Linked DNA regions of Homo sapiens: regions 1 and 2 are each linked to region 3. Evidence: promoter capture Hi-C in 16 types of primary human blood cells and fetal thymus (Javierre and others, 2016). All regions are on one chromosome and are shown on one strand. The core of a region is centred on a gene start or on the middle of the fragment in contact, and the rest is flanking DNA. Distances in the headings are between cores, read along the strand shown. Region 1 overlaps PIP5K1B (phosphatidylinositol-4-phosphate 5-kinase type 1 beta). Region 2 overlaps PIP5K1B (phosphatidylinositol-4-phosphate 5-kinase type 1 beta). Region 3 holds the start of PIP5K1B (phosphatidylinositol-4-phosphate 5-kinase type 1 beta).

Region 1 (3,568 bases), core at 197-2,696, 130 kb after region 3:
CAGGCTTCCATTTCCATGAGAGAGGAATTTAAACCCACAGTCTACTCCTGGAATAGGAAATGTTACAGACATCCATGCCCTTCCTGCTTATTGACCCAAATTCAGCCTTAGCGAGGTCACTTGGGCCGGAAAGCGTTCAGCACCCAGATGGCCTGGAACAGTATCTTTGTTTCCAGCTTTCCAGCCTCAGAATGCCTGTCTCCCCACATGTTCTCCCTCAGTAGATAAATCTGGGCACCTGTTTGTGTTAGGCAGGGATACAGCAGTGAACACAAGGAACTTGGCCCATGACCTCAGGAAACCAAGTTAAGGGGTTCTGTGCATTTTAGCACTTTACTAAATTACCTTTAAAAATGGTTATCCCATCTTAGACGTCCCCCCGCTAATTAGGGGAGCCCTGTTTTTCCGAGTCCTCAAGAGTACTAAGCACTGCTCCTTTAAAAATGTTTTAACAGCTAGATAGGTGAAAATGCCTTAGTTTTCACTTTAATTTGCATTATTATTGTAAGTTAGACTTTTTCAGATGATTTTTATTGATTTATGTGTATTATTATTTATGAATACCCTTTGCTGTCTGATTTGTAAGCACTAATATATTTAGGGCCTTGCATTTTTGTTGCAGATGCTTTTCCATTCTTAAATTAGACTTTTACTTTTCCTTACTTTGTGTTTTTTTTTTTTTTTTTTGACCCAAGCTTTTATATAGTCAAATTTGTTAATAGTTCCCTTAAGGCTTTTATCTTTGCTCTTATTTTGTAATTTTGTGCTAGTAATGCCTTGCTTTAATTTTAATAATTTGTAATGCAAGACTTCCCATGGTATTCTTAATTTTCAAAAATTTCTTAGTGATGTTTTTACATTTTTTCCCTCTAATTGAACTTTAGAATTATAAGGTCACTATCTCTAAAAAAATTTCTATTGTGATTTTTGTTGAAATTATATTAAATTAATGAATTCAGAAAGAAGCATCTTTAAACTTGTATTTTTCCTTCCAAGAATGAAATGTTTATGTATTTATTGTCTTTTATGCTCCTCAGTAAACTTTTATTTTCTTCATAGATTTTATACCTATTTTTAGTTGAATATATGTCTGTGTAACTTATGTGGGGTTTTTTGTTATTAATGTTTTGAGGTTTTTTTTTTCTTTTGCGCATGGGATTTTTTTTTCCATTACATTTTCTGACTGGGGATACGTTAGATCTTGATTTATGTGAGTTTATTTTGTAAACTGACAACCTGTTTTTTTTTTAACTATTCTACTCGGTTCATGACTGATTCTTGGGTATTCTAGGTAGCAATCATATAATGTGTAAATTATCATTTTTCTCCTTCTAACCAATATTTTGTAATTGGCTTGTCTTATTAATTTGATATTCAAAAACAGTATCAAAGAATTCTTGTGATAACAGCACAGCCTTGTCTTACTTGTGTTTTAAAAAACAAATGCCTCTTGTACTGTTTCCAAGAGTGCATTCTTTGTACACACAAGTTATTAATAGATACATAAATAAAAATCCCTTGGTCACGTACATTTGGGAAGTGTCACTCTAGTGCTTCCATTAGTATACTGTTGTCTTTTAGCTTGAAACATTATTTTCTGCATTAAGAAAGTTTTTTTCTGCCTCCAATTTTACTAAAACTTTTTTAAAAATCATAATTGAAGGGAGAGGAAGGGAGGGGAGCAAGGGTTGAAAAAACTATTGAATACTGTACTCAGTAATGGGGTGACAGGATTGATTGCACCCCAAACCTCAGCATCGCACATTATACCTGGTAACAAACCTGCACTTGTACCCCTGAATCTAAAATAAAACTTGAAATAAATTTTTTAATTAATTAACTAAAATCTTTATTGAATATTGGCTTTTTCATATAATTTAAGCTGACCATGGAAAGGCAATTATTGTAAACACAGTTAGCTTTTTGAGATACTCCAAGTACTAGCAAATAATAAAATCATGTTTCTCTTAAAATATTATTTAATTCAGATTTTATATCAGTTTAGATGAATGGGATCATTTTATTTCCTTATAGTTTGGAGAATGTCTTAAAATTTCTTCCTATGGGTCTACTGATCACTTCCCCATACCAGAGTAATGTGTGGAAATTATCTTAAGAGTTAGTGCTTTTTGCAAGTTATTTTGGGGTGGGCAGTTTGTTGAAATCATTGAGAAATTTTGGTTTTGGCAGAGGGGAAAAAGCTTGTGTTTCTTTTGCCTGAAAGTCTGTGCTTTTTCATCTCTGTTTTCCTTTTATTGAGAATTTTAATGTAATTTCATGTTATATTTGGGCCTATGCTTCTTCATTTGCAAAATTTGGGGTGTGGTTGACTGCTAAATGCCATTGAAGTCTCTTGATTTCTTGGTGGTGGTGGTTTTGTTTGTTTTATTCTGTGATCATCTCTTGCAGCAGTCATTTTATGAAGGCCAGGCAGGATGCCTTGGGACGGGGAAAGAGAAGAAGGTAAAGAGTGGGGAGAAGGTTACATCTCCTTTCGAGAAAACCTGAGTTGGTTTCCCTTTGGTGCAAAGGCAATAATATCTTGCATATTTTCCCACCCTCCCTTAAACACCCTGTGGATTAGGAACTCAAATGACTCTATAGGTTTAGGAAGATTAATCCTCTGTGGGAAAAAGTAGAGATTTTCTCCCCCTTTTCTATGTTCTTGGCAAAGTGAATACAACAGAAAATTATCAAAATCTGTCATGAGAGTTTGAATTTAGGAAAATTAACTTGAATGTGTATAAAACATGACACTGTGCTGCCATCCCACCGGCCCTTCAAGCCTAGGGGAGCCCTGATGTAACCAGAGCCTGAGATGGAGACGTCTTGCAGAAAGAGGAGGAGAAATGCCAGGGTGCTGTATTCCTGTTAGGTCCAGCCATGGTCGTCTCCATTCCAGAGAGGTCATGACAAGACCATTTTCTACCCAGATGGCCAAGTGTGTACTCTTCCTTGTTATAAACTCATCACCCATTCATTTATTCAACAAATTGTCCTCTAGGACCACTTTCTGGGACCACACAGATGCAAGCCAGTCTCCTTCATTTCAACCCAGTGCCAATTAGCATCAACTCTTGGGGCTAGTGGGATAAAGAGTGAAAATGTTCGGGTGCCTCAAGTAAACAGGACCTAAAAGTATTGAAAGTATTTCACGGCCCGGCACAGTGGCACATGCCTGTAATCCCAGCACGTTGGGAGGCCAAGGCGGGCAGATCACCTGAGGTCAGGAGTTTGAGACTAGCCTGACCAACATGGTGAAACCCCGTCTCTACTAAAAATACAAAAATTAGCCGGGCATGGTGGCGCATGCCTGTAATCCCAGCTACTTGGGAGGCTGAGGCAGGAGAATCGCTTGAACCCAGGAGGCGGAGGTTGTAGTGAACTGAGATCGCGCCATTGCACTCCAGCCTGGGCAACAGGAATGAAACTCCATCTCAAAAAAAAAAAAAAGAAAATATTTCACACTTGCTATATGTATTAGTTTCTTATTGCTGCAGTCGCAAATTACTGCAAACTTAGGGACTTAAAAACATTTATTATGTTATAGTTCTGTAGAACAGACATT
Region 2 (3,486 bases), core at 374-2,873, 150 kb after region 3:
TAAAAAGATGAGCAACTCCTAAACATGCCTTTGTCATGCCTCAAAATGTATTTTAAAACATAGTAGCAATACCTTCATTGGAGGACATTTCCATCCCAATATATAAAACATAAAATTTAGAAAACTTGGGAAGTACAAAACTTGAAAGCAAAAATCACCTAATATCCCGCTATCCAGAAATAATTGTACATTTTGGTATATTTCCTTCCTGTCTTATTTTCCTCCGTGGATATGTACACGTGTACTTGGTTTTTCTTGTTTAAATTTTATGATCTGTATTGTGTCCTGCTTTTTAAACTTAACATAGTATCTTATTTTTCTAAGTTAAGGATCACTTCTAAAATATGATTTAAGTGATGGCATAATTTGACGAGTCCATCAAATAATTTTGTCAAATATGCTAGATCCAGATTTAGGTTTATATATGAATTAACAATATGAATGAGAAAAATATAGAGAATTTGACTCATAGCTTTAGATATTCCATCAAGTTGTAGTATTTATATTATCAGATGAAAGAGCTACTTGTGGAGACGGTTGTCACCCCTTTCTTCAAACTCTCTTTTCTTGGTTTCAGTGAAGCCATATTTCCCTGATTTTCTTCTACTGTGTTAGTCACTCCTACGTCTCCTCCAAAGCTTTTCCTCCTTCCATCTATTTTCTAAATGTTGTTGTGGTTTAGGACTCTCCTTGGATACTCCCCTCTCTCTCTTGGTTTTCTCATTCAACCCCTTGGTTTTCAATATCATTTATATGCTAACAACTCTCAAAATGAAATATTCTCTCTAACCTCTATCCCAAGCTCCAGACTTGTATGTTAGCATCTCCAGTTGGATGTCTCATTAGCATCTCAAATGGAACTCTGAATCTCTGCTCCAAAATAGGTACCATCTTCAGTTTCCTCAGCTTGGTAAAGTGACTTCAGTCCTCTCAACTGCTGAAGGAAAATGCCAGGAGGCATTGCTGGTACTTTTCTGTCCCTTATTTCTAGTTTGCAGCAAATTCTGTCTCCCTCCCTCCAATATATCTCAAATCCACCTCCTCTGCCCATCCTCTCGTTCATCACCCTTCTCTAAGCCATCAGTATCTCTATATGAACCACTACAACTGCCCCCAATCACTTTCCTGCCTATAATCCCTCCAATGAAACTGGTTGTAGGACTATGGAAATGATACAGTTTGTGGGTAGGCAAACCTCCTCCTCTCTGAGAGGAAGTGGGACAACCTCTTGCTTCTGAGTTCTTCAAATCATTTCTCAAGTTCTTTCCTGTATTAATTTTCTATTGCTTCTATAACAAATTACTACAAGCTCAGTGGCTTAAATCAATGCAAACTTATTATCTTATAGTTCTGGAGGTCAAAAGTTCTAAAATCAAGGTGTTGACAAGGCTGCGTTCCTTCAGAGGCTCTAGCAGGGAATCAATTCCTGCTACGCTAAGTAGCAGCCAGAGTGAACCTTTTCAAATAAGAATGCTGTTCCCTCATTGAAACACATCAAACCATTAGGATGGCCTATAAGACCCAGATCTCAGTCTGTCCAGTCTTTCCAGCCTCCAGTTCTGGCACTTTCCCTGTTACCCGACTAATGAACTCATATGATTTGCTTTCAGGTCCCCGAACCTTACTGCTTCTCTATCCCTGGAAATCAACTCCCCTAATTTCCTAATGTGCTTTGTCTTTCCTCACCACACATAGTAATCCAAAATGTCAATTCCTTAAGGGCAAGACTCTGTTCAGGTCACCTTTATGTCCCCAGTTTGTACAAAGGACACAGCCAGTCTTTGTTGACACGACTTGTTGACTGGCCCATTCTCACTTTTCAGGTCTCAGCCTACAGATCATTCCTCAGAGAGACCTCTGAGACTCCATCATTCTTGAGTGGGTCTCCGCCCTTCTGACCTCAATTATTTCACGCTGTTCTTTCTGTCACTGACTTCATTTGTCTTTATGCATGTGTATCTTTGTCTGTTTAATGTCTCTTTCCCCCACTAGACTAGAAACTCCCATGAGAGCAAGAACCACGTCTCTTTTTCGGCTTATGCTTCGCACAATGCCTAAAATAATGCCTGGCTCATACTAAGTGCTCAGATCTTTGCTGGCAGAATGAACAGCCTCTGACTGAATGGGGTTCTGAGGGAACCTCTTCTCTCTGCTGGGGGCAACACGGGAAAAAATGCCAGGGTCAATCCTGAAGTAGAGGAGTGTGATCCACAGAATAATGGGACCCCAAAGAGATCTATGTCCTAATCCCTGGAACCTATTAAGAAGACATTGCCAATAACTTCACACACTTGGCAGGTGTGATTAAGTTAAAGATTTTGAGATAGGGAGATTATCTTAGATTATCCAGATGGGTCCATATAAAGCGAAGTGAGAAGATCAGAGTCACAGAAGATGTGATGAGAGAAGCAGAGGTCAGAGGGAGACAGAGATTTAACAATTCTGCTGGCTTTGAAGATGGAGGAAGAGGCCACAAGGAATGCGGGTGGACTCTAGGAACTGATTCCCCACCAGAGTCTCTGAAGGAACGCAGCCTTGTCAAAACCCTGATTTTAGGACTTCTGACCTCCAGAACTGTAAGATAATAAGTTTGCATTTTTTTAAGCCACTAAGCTTGTAGTAATTTATTATAGAAGCAACAGAAAACTAATACAAGGAAGAACTTGAGAAATGATTTGAAGAACCCAGAAGCAAGAGGTGGTCCCACTTCCTCTCAGAGAGGAGGAGGTTTGCCTACCCACAAACTGTATAATTTCCATAGTCCTACAACCAGTTTCATGCAATCTCTCTCTCTTTTTCCTTAGTTCTCTCAGTGGGAATCTATCCCTGTTTCTTTCTCCTTAATTCTCTCAGTGGGACAAATAAGTGGACTATGACTTGTTTCTTGAGTATAGGTTCACGGAGAGGAGGGAGAACCTGGAGCTGGGTTTGAGCTGTAGAAATGAAGGAACGTGGACCAGGTGTGGCGGCTCACGCCTGTAATCTCAACATTTTGGGAGGCTGAGGCAGGAGAATCTCTTGAGGTCAGGAGTTTGAGATCAACCTGAGCCATAAAATGAGACCCTATCCCAACAAAAAATTGAAAAGATTAGCCAGGCATGGTAGCATACACCTGAAGTCACAGCTACTTGGGAGGCTGAGGTGGGAGGATGGCTTGAGCCCAGGAGTTTGAGGTTACAATGAGCTGTGATCATACCACTGCACTCCAGCATATGTTGTAGAACCGGGGTGGTTACCGAAGAGGAATGAAGGAGAAATAATAAATAAATGGGGAGGCTGGTCAGCATCTCCCTTCCCATACACCCATATAAGAATTACTCTCTTGCTGTTTTGTTGTTGTTGTTGTTGTTGTTGTTGTTGTTAAGACTGAGTCTTGCTCTTTTGCCCAGGCTGGAGTGCAGTGGCGCCATCTTGGGTCACTACAACCTTTGCCTCCTGGGTTCAAGTAATTCTCCTGCCTCAGCCTCCTGAGTAGCTGGGATTACA
Region 3 (3,993 bases), core at 690-3,189:
CTTCATAAAGTTAGCTCTCTAAATAGCCAGTGGGCAGTCTGGTTGGACACTTCTCTCTGAAAACCTAAGGCTGTTTGCTTTTGGGCTTTACAGAAGTGGCTCAATACCAGGCTCATTAATGGGAAAAGGGTCATGTGTATGGATACATGTATTTGGACATTTATACGTAATGCGTGATCACTTTTGATCCAATGTTTGGCTTTACCTGTCTTCATCTCCCCTGCATTACCAGAAACTGACTTTGCACTTTCACTTACCACCGCCTCCCTGGGAGGCAAATTCATTTTCCACTCTGGATTTCATAGCTGAAGTCTGAGAAGCAGGAAAAGGAGAGACTGGGATTACCATTCCCAGATTCCAAACTAGCCTGCTAGTTACAGCGGTATGATGCTGCCCCCTATACAGTGATTCGTACCAGTCAGATGAACGGTTCTTTGATCGGTTCTTCTGTCCTCCACCACTGGTCTATCCACCCCATCTTGAACTTTGTTAATACAATATTTCTGCTAGTTATTGTTCAGGGATTGAGAGTCAGGGAAACTGTGTTCTGGTCCTTGGGTTACTTAATGTCTTGAGACCTTAGTTTCCTCATCTGTAAAGCGGGAGGGCTGGACTAGATGTATGTTCCTCCTGCTCTGAGCTGTGAAGCGTCTAGGATGCCAGGAGAAAACCAGACCCAAGTCACAGGGTTCTAAACAAACCATACCTTAAATCTCTCAGTAATGGCCAGCCACATCTGCAAGAAGCAGGCTGGGAAAACAGCTGAAGAATAACAGATATTTGTTTTATTTGTCAATTATGGCTCAGTAAAGCTAAAAAAAAATAGATACTTCTGTTATCAAGAAATTATTGCACTTGATTCAAGGCTGATATTAAACCATAGCAGACTCACTCAAGGTGGGGGGTGAGAGAAACAAAGAGATTACAAAACTGAAAAGAGGTGTTCATTTGCAGAGAACTAAGGGAGTATCCTTCAAACAGAAACTGGAAGCCAGAGATCTCTGAAGATAAGGATCATGAAATGTTGTTATTCCCCAGACAGAATGTATCCCACGTTTTCCACCGGCGTTGTTTTTGGTAAAGAAGGGTAAGTGGAAGGAAGTGATGAGGCTGAAAAATACCATTTGCTTCAATTCAGCCGCGAAGGATCCGCTACCTTTTGGTTCCTATTAAGTGAATTTAGCTTTAGCTTTCATGATAGCATTTTCCCAAAGGAGTCCTTTAGATCTGACCCCTACCCTCTTCGCAGCTAGACTGACATCAGGTGACGTTGCAAGTGCCCCCAGCCCACTAAGCGCTATCAGTAGGAATTGGCCCTCAGCCCCGTCACAGCGCTTTCCCATGACATCCCCCAGCTTCTCTCTCCTAGGACCTCCTCGCCAGCCTACCCCTACCTGTTGGGTAGGTCTTACTTGCTGGGAACACCTGCTGTCCTTAGAATGGGAGCAACCAACGCCTTGGAATCCTGGCCTGTCCCTTCCTCGTGAAGGGGGCGCCTGCGCTCAAGTGCCGGCTTCGCCGCCTCAGGCAGAGTCTAGCAGGCGGGCGACCAGGCGTAGCTGAGTTCTGTGGCCTGGGGAAAGGGGACGCCCTATCCCCACAGCCCTGTTTCGCAGGGCTTCAAGACGCTGAGAACGGCCGGGAACCCCTGGAGTCTTGGAGGCACCCGCCAATTCCAGGGGCCCACCCCAACCCCGCTCTCAGTCTGGGCCAGCGGCGGCGGGACAGGCGCCCGGTCCCCACACACCGGCTGAGACGCCCAGCCCACTGCGGCTGAAGCTCCGGCCGCTGTTGCGGCAGGTGCTGCAAACCGGTCTGCCTTCGCTGCAGGGCTTGCGGGGATGGGGCAAGTGGGTGGAGAGAAAAGGGGAAGAGCCTGGGCGGCCGGCAGGCGGGGCCTGCAGCCTCCCCAGCCGCGGCAGCCGCCGCGCAGCCGGCTCTCTCTGCGCCTCGCTCCGACTCCGGCGCGCACCAAGCGGGAACCCGCGCCCGAGCCCGGCGGGCGCCGCTGCTGCTCCTCTCGGTCCCCGGTTCCCGGTCCCCGAACGCGCCGCGGCGAGGCTGCGCCCGGCAGTGGAGCCGCTCGGAGCTGCTGGGCTTTGGCGGCCGCTCGCTGCTCCGTCTGGCCGGAGGACCGGCGGGGAAGGAAGGGGAAAGCGGGGACACACACACTCGCCGCGGCGCGCGCGCACTGCACACTCGTAGCCGCGCGCCCCCGCCAAGGCGCGTCCGGAGCGAGTTTGGCCCCGCGGCTCCAGCCCCGGCACCTGCCCGCCCTCAGCGTTGCCCCCGGCCCCGGCCCCGCCCGCCGCCCCCTCCGCCCTCCCGCCCCTCCCGCCCCTCCCGCCCCTCGCCTGCACTGCTCTCCCTTCGCTGTGGGGAAGCGACAACGTCCCGATAACTTGCAGACTGTGGCGCAACTGGTCTTGGTAGCGGAGGCACCCGAATGCTGCCCGGGTGAGGTAAGTTTCCTGTGCGTCCCCGGCCCCTTCCCACTAGACCCTTCTGAGGGGCTTGCGCTTAGGGGCTCTGCATCTCTGCTGAAACCCGTCGGTCTCTCTACCCTTCCACTTTGCCTGTCTGCGTTGTGCTGGGGGTGACGTGGAGAGGGCGCCCGTGGCCACCGAAGCGGACCTTCGTTCCGCGGGGGCCACAGCTGCGCGCTCCCAACGGACACCCACCCGCTCGTCACCCGGATCCCCGGGGCCGCAGTGACACTCGGAGATCACTCTGGGTTCACTTAAATAGGAGTACTCTCCCCTTTTCCGGGGAACCTGCAGAGTTTGGCAGCGGAAGGAAAGGTCTCCCACCACCCTCCCCCGGTACGAAACAGCGGTGAACTTGTTAGGCGCCCTGGTATCTCAAGAGGGGCTTGCGAGTTGGTGTTCTGCTCATTTCTGGCGCTGGTGCCGGATTGAACAGGTGCGGTATGGTTCCAGTCTAAATGCAGCAACAGACTTCTGCGTTTCCCAGGCTTTCTCCCCCAGCCTGGTCAACGTGACGCTTCAACATCTGGGGCAGGGGCTGGGAGTGTAGGGGCACTGGGGAGGGAGAATGCCCGGGTTTGATTTACTATGCCGGTGCCAGGAGTCGCCAGAACAGAAGAAAACAAATGTCTGCTTATCTGGCATCTATGCAGATGAGCGTGTTGTCATTTCTTATCCCCCCCAACCCCCAGCTCTCTTGTCTGGTGCCCAGCGTGGCTGAGTAGAAACCTATTCCGGAGAAGTTATTTGGGTAGATTGATTAATTCTTTCATCGAATCTACTGAAATCAGGGCTCCGAACAAGGCAATCCTAGTTACTCTGATGCTTTTTTAAAGGGAGCGTGTTACAGATCAGAAATAACACCCACTATCATCACTACCTCTCTGTGACATTCTCAGATGCAGGAGGCCCTAGCTTTAAGGGGAATGATCCTTAAGGGACCGGTAGGACCTCAGAATGTGTTAATCTCGTGCAAGGAAGAAGCGGTCTCTGTGTCAGTACTTCTGAGTCTCGGTTTGGGGAACCCCTTTTGTCCCTCTAATGAAGCACATTCAGCCAGAGACTTCTCCCCTGTTCTGCGAAGAGACTGAAGCGTTCTGCAGCTGTTGGAGTGGAGAAAGGCGAAAGGATTGGTTTCATTAGGACTCTAATGTGATGAAGTAAGGATGGGTTTCATTAGGACTCTAATGTGATGAAGTAGGGTAGTGTTCATGGAAGCTTTGCTAGAGCATTCCCAGCTGAAAGGAGACGCTGGGAAAAAACCTTAATCGGCCAAGTGTAAACCAGTGGGAGGTTGAGTGAGTTTCATGTGTGATCTCTGAGCGGAGGGAAACGGTGGTTCTGATATGGTCCTGTGGGCAGAGACTTATGAGGACTGATGAGAAAGCTGGTGAGTTTGAGACTGATGTATGATGACATCTTACCTGAGAAGGAAAACTGTGAAGCACTAAATGATAGAACCACATTACATTTTTGTCCACGTTAAGACTAGAGAGATTTAATAATA

What was found. The method cuts DNA at HindIII sites, captures the fragments that hold promoters and counts their contacts. A CHiCAGO score of 5 or more calls a contact.
Region 1: a fragment that was not itself captured here is called in contact with the fragment with the promoter of PIP5K1B in region 3 in 5 of 17 cell types (total B cells, erythroblasts, megakaryocytes and 2 more); the score reaches 10.6 in total B cells.
Region 2: a contact is called between a fragment that was not itself captured here and the fragment with the promoter of PIP5K1B in region 3, in 6 of 17 cell types (erythroblasts, total B cells, naive B cells and 3 more). The highest score is 11.4, in erythroblasts.

The regions. Positions count from the first base shown.
Region 1 is chr9:68,836,939-68,840,506 of GRCh38, forward strand. The region is part of intron 4 of PIP5K1B (phosphatidylinositol-4-phosphate 5-kinase type 1 beta); the gene reads left to right. Among named protein-coding and RNA genes, the nearest start is that of PABIR1, 59 kb to the left of the region's middle. The HindIII fragment of the contact is 1,506 bases long and covers 694-2,199 here.
Region 2 is chr9:68,854,630-68,858,115 of GRCh38, forward strand. All of the region lies in intron 4 of PIP5K1B (phosphatidylinositol-4-phosphate 5-kinase type 1 beta), which reads left to right. Among named protein-coding and RNA genes, the nearest start is that of PABIR1, 76 kb to the left of the region's middle. The HindIII fragment of the contact is 1,975 bases long and covers 637-2,611 here.
Region 3 is chr9:68,703,301-68,707,293 of GRCh38, forward strand. It overlaps PIP5K1B (phosphatidylinositol-4-phosphate 5-kinase type 1 beta), which reads left to right and starts at 1,940. Exons shown (of 16, transcript NM_003558.4): 1 at 1,940-2,462. RefSeq lists enhancers at 1,454-2,379, 3,068-3,157, 3,608-3,757 and a silencer at 1,798-2,317. The HindIII fragment of the contact is 6,803 bases long and covers 1-3,702 here.